Regions from separate parts of the Homo sapiens genome. Here region 1 is linked to region 2. Evidence: promoter capture Hi-C in human tissues and cell types (Jung and others, 2019). All regions are on one chromosome and are shown on one strand. The core of a region is centred on a gene start or on the middle of the fragment in contact, and the rest is flanking DNA. Distances in the headings are between cores, read along the strand shown. Region 1 overlaps MTF2 (metal response element binding transcription factor 2). Region 2 holds the start of DNTTIP2 (deoxynucleotidyltransferase terminal interacting protein 2).

The links. The method cuts DNA at HindIII sites, captures the fragments that hold promoters and counts their contacts. A contact is called where the count stands out against the background at its distance.
Region 1: a contact is called between a fragment that was not itself captured here and the fragment with the promoter of DNTTIP2 in region 2, in 1 of the 25 tissues and cell types used here (stomach).

What each region holds. Positions count from the first base shown.
Region 1 is chr1:93,092,020-93,094,719 of GRCh38, forward strand. All of the region lies in intron 1 of MTF2 (metal response element binding transcription factor 2), which reads left to right. Among named protein-coding and RNA genes, the nearest start is that of MTF2, 14 kb to the left of the region's middle. The HindIII fragment of the contact is 6,936 bases long and covers 1-2,700 here.
Region 2 is chr1:93,877,814-93,880,513 of GRCh38, forward strand. DNTTIP2 (deoxynucleotidyltransferase terminal interacting protein 2) reads right to left here and starts at 1,393. Exons shown (of 7, transcript NM_014597.5): 1 at 1,264-1,393; 2 at 1-49. The coding sequence starts at 1,335. RefSeq lists enhancers at 1,119-1,548, 1,400-2,215. The HindIII fragment of the contact is 10,129 bases long and covers 1-2,700 here.

The sequences.
Region 1 (2,700 bases), core at 28-2,527, 790 kb before region 2:
CCCCACCTTTTTTCTGTTTTCATGTGCTGGATGTCTTAGATGAGCCTTTGGTTGTCTTAATCTGTTTTCTCTTATTATATATGTTTGGTTTTTCTTCTCTTGAAATTTTTATTTTGGCTATAATTTTATTTCTTAGAGCTCCTTATTATTTCATGGATGTAATATTTTCTCATATCTCTGAGGATATTAATTGGTTATTGAAACAGTTTTTTCACATACCAACTATTAACATTCTTTAGAACTAGTATTCAGAAAATATCCTTTTGAAACACTACCATAGATGTTGATGTTACCAAGGGTTTGTCTTCACTGCTTTTGGTTTGTCTTCACTGCTTTTATCATTTTCTATCTTTTAAAAAGTAAATTTGGAATATTTAATGGCATGCTACTTGCTAAAAGTTTAAAAATCAGATAATTTTGAAATTAAAAGGCTTTTTTACCAAAACAATGTAGTTTCTTTTCTGTTCCCTCCGCCCCTTCCCACTCCTTAGAGGCAATAACTTTTAACCCTTAGCTAATTCTTTATATCTCTAAATAAAATAGCACTGCATTTAGATTCATCAATTTTATATATTTTTTATAATGTTAGATGAGAATGAATGAGGAGAGGAATAAGGGGGTAAGCTTTCTCTATAAATATATTCTCTGTAACATAATGTTAGATGAAACATAATGTTATAGAGAAAGCTTTCTCTATAAACATGTTAGATGAGAAAGAAATTCATTGCTTCTCTCCTCATTCTTTCAGTATAGTTATATAAAACATTTTAAACTGTTTTCATTTGTGAGTATATAAAAATTGTTTACATATGAAGAACCACGTAGAATATGGTACCACAAAGTAGTGGTGAGGGTTAGTTAATGCTTGTAAAGAATTTAGAGGCCGGGTGCGATGGCTCACACCTGTAATCCCAGCACTTTGGGAGGCCAAGGCGGGCAAATCACGAGGTTAGGAGATCGAGATCATCCTGGTTTGCACGGTGAAATCCTGTCTCTACTAAAAATACAAAAAATTAGCCAGGCGTGGTGGCACATACCTGTAATCCCAGCTACTTGGGAGGCTGAGGCAGGAGAATCGCTTGAACCCGGGAGGCAGAGGTTGCAGTGAGCTGAGATCACACCACTGCACTCCAGTGTGGGCGACAGAGTGAGACTCTGTCTCAAAAAAAAAAAAAATTTAAAATAGTGTCAAATACTTGTTAGCTGTTATTTCTAGATTTACATTTTTTTCTTATACAACTATGTTTAAAAATTGCCTCATTAAAAAACAAAATTTGCCTAGTTTTCTTTGAACATTAAAATCTTCATACATCTTCAGTTCCACAAAATGTCTCACAGTGCACTTTTCCACAATGTCAATCTGTCATCTAATTTATCAGTGCCATTTATTTTTCTTAGAGATATCCTCCTGGAGTTCTTCTGGAGTTCTGCTCTAATTTGGACTGGTTCTCTAGACCTGCTGCATGGAAGTTGTCTTGGGGCTTTCCTTTACCACCATCCTGGGAATTCCTTTCTCTTCCCTTCTGTGTGACATACCTTGCATTCCGTGCCTGCCTTTTATTTGGTTTACTCCCTCTGTTTAGTTTTATTAAGCTCAAATAAAGTGTGCTTGGGGGATAAATCTTTAAATACTTTATATGGCTGAAAATGTTCTAATTTTCATACACATACACTCTTTTTTTAAAAAAATACATTTTAGAGATAGGGTCTCTCTGTGTTGCCCAGGGTGGAGTGTAGTGGCTATTCACAGGCATGATCATAGTACACTACAGCCCTGAACTAGGCTCAAGCGATCCTCCTGCCTCAGCCTCTGGAGTAGCTGGGACTACAGGAGTGTGCCACTGTAGCCCAGCTTTACTTACTCTTTTTAGTCCCTTGATTGATAATTTGACTGGTTATAAGGTTGATTTTCACCCAGAATTTATTTTTCACTCAGATTTTTAAGTGAATAGTTCCACTGTCTTCTGACTTGTAATATTGCTATAATGATTATTATTCTCAGTCCCTTGTTAGTTGCCCTTTTATCTCTTTGTAAACGTAGTATCTTTGTCCTTGATTTTCTTAGAACAGGTTTTTTTTGTTCAGTTTGCTGGACACTTGTGGCCTTTTCAATCTGGTTACTTCTTTCAGTACTGGGATGTTTTCTTTTACTTTGATAATTTTTTCTCCACTTTTTTTCTGTTTTCACATGTTGGATATTTCTGATTGGTCCTCTAATTTTCTTAATCTGTTTTCTCTTATTTTCTATCTTGGTTATATAAGGTGAAAACTTTTGTAATCACCCCAGGGTCAAAAGTAGAACATTGCCAGCTAACCCAGAAACCCACATTGCAACCCTTTCATCCCCCAGATAATCTCCATCCTGACTTCTGTGGTGATTATTTTTTCTTTGTAGTCTTATTATTCAGATGTGCATTTTGAGGGTTGTAGTTTAATTTACTAGTTTTAAAATATATGTTTTAAGATTTTTTTTCAATTACAGGTTCTATCTTAGATCTTGCCTCTTTTTTTCTGTGGAGTTTATTTGTGGGAGAAACCAGGTCATTTGTCATGTGCATTTCCTAACCTGTATTTTGCTGTTGCATCCCCACTGTGTAGTTGAGCATATTTCTCTGCATTTACTAGATCTAGAGGCTTACCAGGTTCAGGTTTGCCTTTTTGGGGGGTGGGGTGGGCAAGACTATTTCACATGTGCTGTGG
Region 2 (2,700 bases), core at 143-2,642:
ATCCAGTACTACTTTCTGGATGCGCTTGAATCCCATTAGCAGCAAAACTCTGCAAACCAGAGAAAACACACTGTAATTTAGGTAGGGCTGGAACAAGGGCAAAGCAAATGAAATACTGACCCCAAAAGCTAAAACCCAGTAAACAAGATTACCTTTAAAACAAAAAACAAAAAAACCTGCCCAACTCATGATTTTTAAAAAATCAAAATTTGGCCGGGCGCGGTGGCTTACGGCTGTAATCCCAGCACTCTGGGAGGCCGAGGCAGGTGGATCACGAGGTCAGGAGTTCGAGACAGCTTGGCCAACATAGTGAAACCCCATCTCTACTCAAAGTAAAAAAATTAGCGGGGCGTGTTGGTGCGCACCTGTAATCCCAACTACTCAGGAGCCTGAGGCAGAAGAATTGTTGGAATCCGGGAGGCAGAAGTTGCAGTGAGCCGAGGCTGCGCCACTGCACTCTAGCCTGGGCGACAGAGCAAGACTCCGAATCAAAAACAAACAAACAAAAAAATCAAAATTTAAACACTGGAGCCAACCCTGCATTTACTTCACTAGCCTCATCCTTCCTAGATGTAACTTCAGAAGCAGAACGATTAAAATTTTTCTGTTTAAAGTCAAATATAATGGGTAGACCAACATTCTGACCCACCTATAGAAGAGGGGAGAAAGGGAATATTAACTCTGAACACCGATGTGTTTAGGAACACACTGATGGAATCAGTCGCCGCCCTTACCTTTACGTACAGGAAAAAATCGCCGCCGCTCCGTTCCCTGCATCGCTGAGTCAGAATGAGACAGCCGACTAACGCCACTAAGAGTCACCAGGCGACGACACCACAGCCCTCCTCACGCCTTAAGGAGGTGATGCTGGACAGCTGCCAGCCTCCCCACGTGAAAACGAAGCTTTTTTTCCAGCCCCCCTAAATGGGGCTTGTGCATGGTGGCCGAAATTAACCCTCCTTGGTACCGTGTTAACAGTAAGGTTTAAAAGTTCGAACTGTGCTTCTGCATTAAGGAGTTGAACGACCCAAATAAAGTTATCTAACCTCTCTTCCATACTAAAAATTGCCTTAAGAGACAGTGGTGAAGGCTAAACAGTTTCCGTGACAGGCTTAGCACGGGGCCTGGGAGACCCAAGCGCGCGGCAAGCTCGGGTCCTCTCTGTCGGCAGGTCCTCACCCTTAACCGGACCCTTGCGCCGCCCCGCCTGCCTGAGCGCGGCTCTGCGAAGCGGCGAGAAGTAGGGAAGACTGGATTTCCTACCTTTTGCCCGGAACTTTCAGCCGACGCGGCTTGGATGCTGGCCTTAGCCCGTGCAGATCTGGTAACCACCATCTTTCCGGCTCCCTCGCGACCACCACGACTTCCCTCTTCCCTGGCGCTCCGGAAATGCGTCAGAGAACTGCCTCGAGCGCGTTTTCCGCGCAGATCCGAGAATTCGCGAGAATCTCCGCCCAGCCAGTTCAGGCCAGGGCGGTCAGAGACAAAGGGCCTGGGTTTAAGTGTGCATTTCAGAGCTGTAGAAGGCAAGCCAGATTTTTGCTGGGAAAGACCTTCATCGGGGCGGCGAAGCCCGCAGTGACAGAGGGTCTTAGCGTACCCGTTCACATGAATTGTAAAAACGCACTTACATGCCATTCGTTCTTTCATTTGTTTAGTAGAATCGTTTGAACCCGGGAGGCGTTCTTTCATTTCTACGTTCTAAAGAGCTTAATGTAGCCATTGGTATGTCCAAGGGAGAAGTTTGAGATATTTGTGCTTTTTAAAGAAAGACAATATTTACTCGTGTATTGTGACGCTAACTATAAATAAAATTTAAGGACTTGGTTGGGGTAAAAGGGATATAAGGTGCTCGCAGGAACTGGGAGACGAAGTGGAAAGCTGTATAATCTAAACGTGAGATGGTGTTTAGGGATTGGGAATAGCAGAAAAGAAAAAAACGTTAAAGAAATTGTAAAGGAGAAGAATAAGGTTTTGTTGTTGTTGTTGTTGTTGTTATTGTCACAGTGAAAGGAAGAGTATGACCAGAATCAAGAGGTTTCTTTGGTTATCTTTTGAGATAAAAGGTAGAGAACTATGTTTGAGGGGATGGGAAGGGGTTGAAAAAATAAGTAAACGCAAATTATTGTTGGAGGTGAGAAAGGATGAATGAGTGCCTCACCAAACCTAGTCTCTACTTCATGACAGAAAACCAATTTTTTATTTAAAGTCACAGAACACTGTGTCGATGGACACACTGCTTCCCAGCTTAAAATAGCTTATTTTATAGTCTCTCTTGCAGCCAAATGTGGCTATGTGACTACGTTTTAGCCAATTAGGTATAAATTGTGTGCATGTCTTTAGGGACGGCATCTAAAAGAGAGGAGGCCGTCCCTGACTTTTTTTTTTGGAGACGGAGTCTTGCTCTGTCGCCCAGGGTGGAGTGCAATGGCGCAATCTTGGGTCACTGCAACCTCCGCCTCCCGGGTTCAAGCGATTCTCCTGCTTCAGCCTCCTGAGTAGCTGAGATTACAGGCGCCCGCCACCATTCCTGGCTAATTTTTTTTTTGTATTTTTAGTAGAGACGGGGTTTCACCATGTTGGGCAGGCTGGTCTTGAACTCCTGCCTTCAGGTGATTCACCCGCCTCGGCCTCTCAAAGTGCTGGGATTACAGTGCTGGGATTATAGGCCTAAACGACCTCGCCCAGCCCTCCTGATCT